Regions from separate parts of the Homo sapiens genome. Here regions 1 and 3 are each linked to region 2. The links are contacts of gene promoters, found by promoter capture Hi-C in blood cells and fetal thymus (Javierre and others, 2016). All regions are on one chromosome and are shown on one strand. Each heading gives the region's core, a stretch centred on a gene start or on the middle of the fragment in contact. The rest is flanking DNA. Distances are from core to core; before and after follow the strand shown. Region 1 overlaps PLCB1 (phospholipase C beta 1). Region 2 holds the start of HAO1 (hydroxyacid oxidase 1). Region 3 overlaps PLCB1 (phospholipase C beta 1).

What was found. Contacts are between HindIII fragments. The CHiCAGO score rates a contact against its expected background, and 5 or more counts as called.
Region 1: a fragment that was not itself captured here is called in contact with the fragment with the promoter of HAO1 in region 2 in 1 of 17 cell types (M0 macrophages); the score reaches 5.4 in M0 macrophages.
Region 3: a fragment that was not itself captured here is called in contact with the fragment with the promoter of HAO1 in region 2 in 2 of 17 cell types (total B cells and fetal thymus); the score reaches 5.2 in total B cells.

What each region holds. Positions count from the first base shown.
Region 1 is chr20:8,739,695-8,743,251 of GRCh38, reverse strand. PLCB1 (phospholipase C beta 1) reads right to left here. Exons shown (of 32, transcript NM_015192.4): 22 at 2,804-2,908; 23 at 1,679-1,788. Among named protein-coding and RNA genes, the nearest start is that of RNU105B, 90 kb to the left of the region's middle. The HindIII fragment of the contact is 558 bases long and covers 1,779-2,336 here.
Region 2 is chr20:7,938,414-7,941,852 of GRCh38, reverse strand. HAO1 (hydroxyacid oxidase 1) reads left to right here and starts at 1,395. Exons shown (of 8, transcript NM_017545.3): 1 at 1,395-1,567. The coding sequence starts at 1,431. The HindIII fragment of the contact is 4,903 bases long and covers 488-3,439 here.
Region 3 is chr20:8,704,946-8,708,520 of GRCh38, reverse strand. All of the region lies in intron 11 of PLCB1 (phospholipase C beta 1), which reads right to left. Among named protein-coding and RNA genes, the nearest start is that of RNU105B, 120 kb to the left of the region's middle. The HindIII fragment of the contact is 3,557 bases long and covers 318-3,575 here.

The sequences.
Region 1 (3,557 bases), core at 808-3,307, 800 kb before region 2:
CCCTCAAAAAAACCCCACCTGGGTATAGAAGTAACATACATCAACACAATGAAAGCCATATATAACAGTTCAACAGCTAGTATCAAACTGAATGAAGAAAAACTGAAAGCCTTTCCTCTGAGATCTGGAATAAGACAAGGATGCTCACTTTCACCACTGTTATTCAACATACTACTGGAAATCCAAGCTAGAGCAACTGGACAAGAAAATAAAATAAAGGGCATCCAAACTGGAAAAAGTCAAATTATTCCTGTTTGCAGATAACATGATCTTGTATTTGGAAAAACCTAATGACTCCACCAACTAACTATTAGAACTGATTAACATTCAGTAAAGTTGCAGGATTAAAAATCAGTGTACAAAAATCAGTATGTCTGTATCAGAATATCAAATGCACCCCGTAACATATATACCTACTATGTACCCACAAATAAAATAAAATAGTGCAGCATTGCAAATATCCAATAATTGGGGACTTAGTAATTAAATTATGGTGGAGCTATATGATAGAAGGCTATGAGTTATTAAAAGTCATGTCATAGAAGAATATTTAATGACATGGGCAATGAGATACTTAATACTTTTATTTTCACTTAAAACACAGACTGTGAATATTATCCCATTTTATGAAAGAGTAACAATTGTGCATAAAAAGACTAGATATGTATACACCCCACATTTAATGTGGCTATCTCTGAGCGGATGGGATGTTTGAATTACAGTTGATTTCTTTGTTGTTTTCTTTTGTCATTTTTACGTTTTAAATTTTCTATAATAAATCGAGGATGCTTTCGAAATAAGAAAAACATTACTTAACAATGTCAACTTTAATAGACTATTTAAATGGACTATTTAATGGATAACTATTAGTTATACTTATTAAAACAATTTTCAAGGTTTTTTCCCCCAATACTGACAGTTCTCCATTTTCTATCTTTTTTCTCGAGTTTTTCCTCTGAATAAAATATGAAAATAGCAAATTTTTATCACTATTTTTAATATTAGTGTCACCCTTAATAATCAAGTTATAATTCACTTTTTTTAAAAGCAAAAAGACTGCCAGTCTACATAGAAGCTTTATAAATTTAAACTTCATTTCTACTATTTTTAGACCCTTCCTTAATTATGCTTTGCATTGTGACATCTAATTTGGAATAATATATCAATTATTTGCAGGACACACATTATAATACATAAATATACCATCTAATAATAACAGTAGACTCTTTATGACTCATACTATTTTCCAGGTATTGTGTTAAATATTTTATGTACTATAAAAATCAGAAAAGCACTTTGAAAATCCTGCATGCTACATTAAAGATAAAGGGAAACCCTAAATGATTTGATGATTATCTTCCTTTTTAAATGCGTTCATCACCTTTAATTAGCATGGAATCATGTAGAAAGTTTCATCTGAAATAGCAAGATGTGTGCAGTTTAATTTTATCACAAGATAAGATGCTCGTGGTATCCACAGAATGCCAAAAGAAAATGAAATGTGAAAAATTTAAGTCAATCATCTAGATGTTCTGTGACATGATGCTAAACTGCATGAAAGTGTTGTTCCAATGTGCTATTCCTTCTCCCAAGGTATGTGATATTACTTAGGCAAAGCCAACAAGTAGGTGTGGTGATCATGCTTAATGCTATATGTAAAATTAAAACACCCTCTCACCTCTTTCTTTACTTCTTCTTCATCTTCCAGTGTCAAAGCAGCCAATTGCTTAGCTCTCTGTTCCATCAGGTTCACATATCGGATTGGGTTTGATAAAGCTTCGATGACATCTAAATAGGGAAGAGATATTTTAGATCAAAGGTCCTGGAAGTATTGATTATCCATCATTCATCTACTTACTCATCTATCTGACCATCAGTCCATGCATTCATTCATCACCCATCTACCCACCCATCCATCCATCCATCCATCCACCCAGTCATTATCCATCTTCCATTCTTCTGTCTACCCATATAACTATCTACTCCTCTATCCAACACTTTGAACATGGACAAGGGTTAGGACTCTGTTGAAACTTCAGGAAGAGAGAAATTAAGAGTTTAGTTCTGAGAGTCAAACTGGACAGGCTTCAACTCAGGATCCCTGAATATTCTTGATTCCTTAGTTTCTTTTTGAAGGTCCCATCCATTCCGGCAATGGCCCACCCAATTGTCCTATTTGGCCCAAATGACGTTTCATAAATGGAGACATTTTACATAAAAAGCCTGCTTTCCGGACTGTTGGGATAACCCAATGATTTGCCAATATAGTTATTTGAAGGGCAGTGCCTAGCTGGAATGAGTTATGGCTGCCAGCTTTGGATGGACAGCCCCAAGCTTACCATGGTCTCCACTACTCCCCAGTGTCTTACACCCAAGCTACTTGGCACTATAAGCATTTACACTTATGATTCTTGGTTAATTCCTTAAATTTAGGATGTCACCCATGAAAAGAATCAGCATTCTAAAATTGGTGGAAGACAAATTCAGTGTACAGACCTAGACATTTGTTGTAATGGATAACATGAGTTGGTAAGTGCTGGGCCCATGAGAATAAGACTAAAAGGGAATAAATATTCAAAAAACTGAGGTGTTGTGATTTTAATTAAAATACGTTAAATTAAAATGTATTCACAATGGCTCAAGCAATTTACCTCTAAACATACATACGAAAGTAGGGGTGATTCTGAAGCCAGAATCTCCTGCTTTGTTTGGTTCAGTTTTCCTTTCACTAACCCAAAAATATATGGTGACTCAGACAGAAATACCCCTTTGAGTAAAGTGGTATTTGAGTTAAGTTGTTTACCTGCATATGTGTCTGGCACATAGTCTTTCACTTCTATGTAGACAAAGACAGCAGGCAGCGTCAGAGGCTGGTTCCTTTCATTCCTTAGACAGATATAGTGATAGCCTGGAAGGTGAGAATAATGCTGTGTAGCACATATTTCCTTTCCAATGTTAGTTATAATTATGCGCATCTATGTGATGAAAGCATGTATTTCAGGTTACTTTAGATGAAAAACAAATCACTTTTTTCATTTTAATAACATTTATGAATGATAAGGCATTATTTTTCTCATCAGACAAGAAAACATTCAATGTGATTTTTTCCTTTCCAACCGTATGATTTTTCCCACAAAAGATAATTCCAAATCACATGTCATAGACTGAATTATTGATCCAAACTTGCCCCCATAACAGAATTATACTTGACATGACTTCTTTTTTTAAAAAATTGTTATTATTATTTTTTGTAGAGACAGGGTCTCATTCTGTTGCTCAGGCTGGTTTCAAACTTCTGGCCTCAAGAGATCCTCCTGCCTCAGCCTCCCAAAGTGCTGAGATTATAGGCGTGAGCCACCATGCCCAGCCTTGACGTGATTTCTTGACTTGTGCTTAAGCTCTGCTTTAGTCAACAGTATATTAGTAATTTGGTGTAGGTAGAGGCTTAAAATGCACATGCAGAGTTAGACATTCCAGTGTTCTGCCAAGAGAAGTCCATATTGTAGAAGCAACTGCCACTTCAGCCTGGACCCCAGAGTGAGCGCATGTGGGACAGA
Region 2 (3,439 bases), core at 146-2,645:
ATATACACACAATGAAATATTATTCAGCCTTATAAGAGAAGGGAATCCTGTCATTTGCAGTAGAACCCAGAGAACATTATGCTAAGTGAAATAAGCCAGGCACAAAAGGGAAATTATTGCATTATTTCACTTATAGGTGGGATTTTGTTTTAAAAAAGACTTCAAATGCACAGAGCTAGAGAATGAAACAGTGAATACCACTAGTGGGAAGCAGGGAAGAGGAAAAGGGGTGATATAGGTCAAAGGATACAAAATAGTAGACACGTAGGATACATAAATCTACAACAGGGTCCCTAACCTTTTCGGCACCAGGGACAAGTTTTGTGGAATACAATTTTTCCATGGGCAGTGGGGGTAGGTGGATGGTTTTGGAATGAAACTGTTCCACCTCAGATCATCAGGCATTAGATTCTCATAAGGAGTGGCGCAACCTAGATCCCTCGCATGTGCAGTTCACAATAGGAGGCGGAGCTCAGTCTGTAAAGCTTGCTCACCGGCTGCTCACCTCCTGCTGTGCAGCTTGGTTCCTAACAGGCCACGGACCAGTACCAGTCCATGCTGGGGAGTTTGGGACCCCTGGTCTAGAGAGCAAACGTGCAAAATGAGGACTAAAGTTAATAAAATTGTATCATATTAGGAATTTTTGTTAAATAAGTTGATTTTAGCTGTTCTTGTCATACACACAAAAAAGTAATTACGGGTGAGATGATACATATATTATATTGGCCTCCCTACTGTAACCATTTTTCTGTGTATATGTATCTCATAATATCATGTTGTAAACCTCAAATATACAGAATGAATAAAACAATTAGCTGTCAATTTGGCCTTAATGTTCCATGTTAAAGCCAAATGTCTATGTTTGTAATCAGCTAAATTTTATATTGTGCAGAAGCCCTGAATTTCACGGATGCCCCATATTTCATGGATGCCCCGTTCAGTTCATAAGCTCTTGTTTACATGATTTGTGCATGATCCAAATGTGGAAAGAAAATGAGTGGGCAGCCTATTCTGGGTATCAAGCAAAGAGCACAGGCACAGACCATGTGCAATAAGCAGCCTTAGGCAAAACTGAACCAAGAGTGGTTTCATACAGGTATTCCTCTAAGTCTTTAATTTTTTACTTATTCCTTTCCCCTTTTTAATGTGATAGACACCTAATCACCTTCTGCTGCCTTCCCAACCTCAACTTTGGTGTTCTTTGGCAGATAGTGACTTCGGTGTTCTTTGGCAGATAGCCTACAAATGAAATTTCAAAGGCTAAGCATATAATGTTTGCTCACTTGATGTAAGCAACAGAGAACTAAATCTGAACTTTGGCAAAAGTCTATTAATAATTGACAAATAACAGAACAGTGAGGATGTAGAAAGCAATACATTAAAAAAAAAAAAACAACGAACTCCATCTGGGATAGCAATAACCTGTGAAAATGCTCCCCCGGCTAATTTGTATCAATGATTATGAACAACATGCTAAATCAGTACTTCCAAAGTCTATATATGACTATTACAGGTCTGGGGCAAATGATGAAGAAACTTTGGCTGATAATATTGCAGCATTTTCCAGGTAAGAAAATTTATTTTTTAAAATCATGTTTTAAAATTACACAAAGACCGTACCAAAATAAGATCTCCTAGTTTTACGTTGGTGGTGTGTAATTATTTGTTCAGATTTGTGCTTAGTAGAGAGGGAAAAGTTCTTGGGGCTGTAAGAAATCTTGGGCCTTTAAATTGTTAAAAAATATTCCAAGCCTGTGAATCTTGAGGAACTGACTGCAAAAGCCAAACCTATGTTACTTCACTTGGAAATATGACAACAATTAATTTAACTACATGTAAAAATAGCGATAAATTCGGATGACTTTTCTTTTTCTTAGTATGACAGTAAATGCTTATGTTCATGGTGTAGGAAACAGCATTAAATGCCAGATAACCATCTTATCCGGATGAACCAGACTGGATTGTTGGCTCAAATGTTTTCTTCCTGCTGGCTTTTCGTGTTATCATTCATTTTGATTACTGTTGTCTAAACTTTCACTTTAGATTTCAATTTGTCTATGCAGCATTAATCTTTCAACTTTGCTGTTTCATCTCTCCTTCAAAGCACTTCATCTCTCTTCCCAAATTAGTTTTCCTTTGACTTTCATATTTCAAAGCACAAGATGGTGGGTGACATGGTTTATGTTTTCTGTTTGTAATAAAAACAAGAAATAAAATCATTTCAAAGGGTTTTTTTTTATAGCAGTTACAAAAATGGTTTATTTGCTGGAGCAAGAGAGGAGTGCCTTCACTACACTACACTCAGTCTCATCCATCTAACATTATGGCTGTTAGTAAAGGCAATCGGTATTGTGGGTACTCATTGATGGTGATAAAGACAAAAAGGCAGAAAATATGCAGGGGGAGAGAATTAGCCTTCCTCCCTGATTTCTTCTTTAGTCTACAACAAAATCACTCAAAATCAGTTTTCCATATTTAAATTAGGAGAAATAAAATTATCCTGGCCAAGGTGGTCTCTGGTAGGCAGCACTGATTCACCCACAAATCCATGTAGAAGACTGAAAATGGCAATGGGGTGAAGGATACGGCCTCTCCCCAACCCTTTCAAGCCTTGACTTTGTCTCAGGTTTTGCCTGGAACCCAAATGAGCTCAACAAATGCCAGGGAAGTCATGGGAAGGGAAGTTGACTGAGAGTAGAGGGGCTTAAAATTCTGCATCATTATTTACTATTTTGGACTCATTTAAAAGTTTCTGCTCTTGGAAGATGCCCCTTCTTGGGCCGATATTAACTTTGTCCACCAAAATTTGCCTATGAGTGGTCTCTTGAAAACACTTTAACCCAAATAGGTTATTACAACCAAGGAAATTTCAGACCCTTGACAGATTTATAGAGTTAGTGTCTCAGCATTGCTAGACCTCCAATGCTCAAGTGATTATTTATTTCATTTGTATACAGCTTTCCTTACTTCTTAATTCCCTTTGTCGCATGCTAGCTAATTAACTAGAGCTAATTAGGAGTCTCCATGAGCTACACTGTGTACTACATGCTGAGGACAAAGCAGTGAGCCAGACAAAGTTCCTGTCCCTAGGAACTTACATTCCCCTGGATGCATATCAGCCTCCATAATGCTGTTGGGTTGAATTGATGCAAAATGGGCCCAAAATAGTTGGCCAAGTGGAGGTCTCAGAGAGGATGCAAAGGGGCGCCCCAAAGCAGATGGATCACCTATGCAACCCTTTAAAATGTAGAAACTTTGGGAGACATAGAAGGCTTGGTGACTTCTAAGTTATGAACTGGAAAAGTGCCTCATGCCTTATGTGAATTACATGGTATTCAAGTGAGTATTCCCATCCTATGTGTGTACCGAGTAACTTAGGGATAGGACACAGATAATGAAAATGAATTTGCAGTGTCACCTTTTCCATGAACCTTGATCA
Region 3 (3,575 bases), core at 847-3,346, 770 kb before region 2:
GCTGGACGGTGCTAATTCTGACTCTTGATTCTGGAAAGTTATAAGAAGATTGGATTTTGGTGGAGGGGAGAGAGAAATGCAAAGGAGAGGATTCTCCTGTTTGCTAATTGTATCTATTTTTTAATAATCAAAGAAATCTAATCATATTATAAACATTTGGGACAGTAAGAGAAGGCAAAAATTTTCACCCACAAATCCACTTTCTGAACCAAACCATTGTTAGCATTTCATTATATTCACTTCTAGTCTGTCTCTCATGTATTTATGTAGCTTAGTTTTAATTACAGTATATACTCAACTTGTATTTTTAAAAAGCTTTGTTATTGAGATGTGACTTTTTTGAGATATAATCTGCCCATTGAAAGTGTACAGTTCAATGGTTTTTAGTATATTCAGAGAGTCATGCGAGCACCATCCCAATATAAGTTAGAACATTTTTATCGCCTCAAAAAGAAACCATGTACCCACTAGCAGTCACTCCTCATTCCTGCACCCCACCCCACACACCTAGTCCCAGGCAATCATTCATCACTTTATGTATTCATAGATTTGCCTATTCTAATTATTTCATATAAATGTAACCATACAATATATGGTTGTTTGTGCCGACCACCTTTCACTTAGCATGGTTTCAAAGTTCATCCATGTTGTAACATGTATCAGTACTTCAATTTTCAATCTGCATTTTTAAAAATGTATATGTCACAAGTTTCAATATATGTACAAAATTCTAGAAAGTAAAGGTATTAAAATTGATTTAACCATTCCCCAACTGTTGGACAGCTACATTTTCAGAGCTGTCATTCAAATAATTCTACAGAGAACAGCTTCATTTTTTCCCTAATATCTTGATTGATTTTCTGGGAATGAATTCTCAGAAGGGGAATTCTTGATTTAAGAATATGAATACTCTTACAGTCCCTCATGTATTTCAAATTACTTTTCACTTTAGATTGCCCAGAGTAATGCATGCAGGACCAGATTTCAATGCATATTCACCAGTTTTGGGCATTATTCTTAAAAATGTTTTTCTTATTTAACTGGTAGTAAAGTGCAGTCTCATTTATTGTTTAATTATATCACTTTCAGTAGTAGTGAGGTTGCATATTCCCATACACTTGTTTTTAGTTACATTTATTTTTTTCATATTCTCCTTTTAAATAGGGATTTCCACTCCTATTCTTTATGCCTGAGCCTTTTCTGCTATCGTCTCTACCTTCCCCATTCAATATATAGCGTTCTTTATATCCACTCCTGAAAGCTATTTCCCTGGCCCCAGAGTATAAGTAAGGCTTTCTAATTCTGTACTACATTTGCATATATCCTCTAAGAAGGATTTGCCTGCATGGAGCGAGAAGAATCACTTTTACTGTTTCTTAGAAATGAACTCACAGATTATCTTTCATACATAATCAGTTTAACTTTTACGATAGTTGAGTCTGTCAAAAAAAGCAAGCACTATAAAAGGCAAGCAACATCCAGATTTTAAATGCTATATTTGATTTATTTGAGTATAGGCTTTGGATTCAAACCGACTTTTGAATCCTTGCCTCTGAGATTTGCAAGCTGTGTGACCTTGGGAAAATCACTTAATGCCTCTGTGTATTGGTTTGCTAATCTATAAAGTGCAATAAACCTCACTTCACAGATCTGTTGTGAAGATGCAGCAAGAGAAGGCAAAGGACTCAGCTCATGATGGTTATCTATTCTTGATTCAACTAAGGTGCAGAGATATTAACTGACTTACCTTAAGTCATAGAGAAGAGAATCCAAGATTAAACCCCAGGAAGATTTGTCTGACTCTAGAGCTTATTAATACCCAACCATTGCAGTAACTTCCATGCAGCTAATAATCTTAGCCAGCTAAGAGCAAAGCCCTCAAAAGAACTGAGAATAGAGGTCATCAAGGATGTGGATGCTAAGTGTGGAAAAAAAGGGCTGGATTTTGTTTATTTCATAAATTTGGCACTAGTGTATCAGGTAAAGGATAAATACAGTAGAGCCATTCTCGCCTCCTCTCCTTCTCTCACACCTTTCAATTCATCAGCAATCTTGTCCAAAATAGGTCCCGAGTACAGTCAAGTGTCAGCACCTCCACTGCTATCATCCTGATACAAAAACCACTGCAGTGACTGCTGTGGTAGATTTTATCACCATTCCCACGTATTTGCTTCCCCCTTCCTTTGGGAGAATTCTGTCTACACACCCTGTTGACCATAGGCTTGGCCGTGGTTTTATTTTGGCCAAGGGCCTGTGTATGAAAATGACATGTGCTGCTGCTGAGTAGAGTCTTAAAGACCCATCATGTTGTTGTCCAGCCATTTCTCTTTCTCTTCTCCCATGAGTCCAGTGATATCATAGATGTGGGTTGTTCTTTCAACATGAATTCCAAACAATAGCAATCAGAGCAACAGCTGACATCTAACCTGTGTGAGAAGTAAACCGTTGTGGTTGTAAATCACTGTGATCCTAGGGTTTCTTCTTATTGCAGCAAAACCTAGGAGAAGCTGACTGACAGTCTTTTTATTGCTTTCCTGGCTTCTAGTACTTGCCGCTGTATTCCACACCATAGCCAGAGTCATTGCTCCTAAACATGAGTAGACAGTTTCGCTCCTTTCTATAAACTTTCCAATGACCTCCCATTTCACATGGAATGAAATCCAAATTCATTATCATAATCTACACAGCCTAACTTGATCTGGCACCTGCCATTTCTTTAAATACATCTCTTTTTCCTCTCCCTCTCTGTCACCTGGATACAGTCCATTGATCTTGTTGCTTTTCCTTGAATACATCAAGCATGCTTTCATCTCACCATCTTTGCACTTTGTTCCTTCAGTCAAAAATACTCACATTAAAGCATGATTTACTGCATTGATTTGGGAGTAAGTACAGCACCTGTGCCTAAACATCACCTTACCAAAGGCCTGCCTCTACCATCCAGACAGCATAATTCAGGTCTCTCTTTTCCTTGCCCACTGATTTAGATTGCTTTAAAGGGCATGTTTCTATGTACCGTATCTTTGTGTTTATTTTGATCTATCTTTCCTCACTAGACAGTGTAAACTTCTTGAGGTAAGAACTTGTTTTCTTCACTGTTCTGCTAAGGCACATTCTAGATGCTCAGGAAATACTTTCAAATGAATGAATGAACTCCTAATATATGACAGAAGAGAAACAGAATTTATCTAGTTGTGTTCCCATTTATTCTTCTATTGACTAGCTCAGAGGTCAGCATACATTTTTTCATAAAGGACCAGGTAGCATTTTAGGCTTTGCTGGCCATATAGTTTCTATTTCTATGGCAACTGTTCAACTCTGCCTTTGTAGCTCGTGATGATTAATTTTATGTGTCAACTTGACTGGGTCATGGGGTGCCCAGATATTTCGTTAAACATTCTTCTGGGTGTCTCTGTGAGGGGTTTCTGGATGAGATTAACATTTGAATTGGTAGACCGAGTTAAGCAGCCTGCCCTCCCTAATGTGGATGGGCCTCATTCAACGCACTGGAAGCCTGAATAGGAAAAAAAAAAAAAGAGTAAAGGAGAATTTGCTGTTTCTGCCTGACTGTTTTT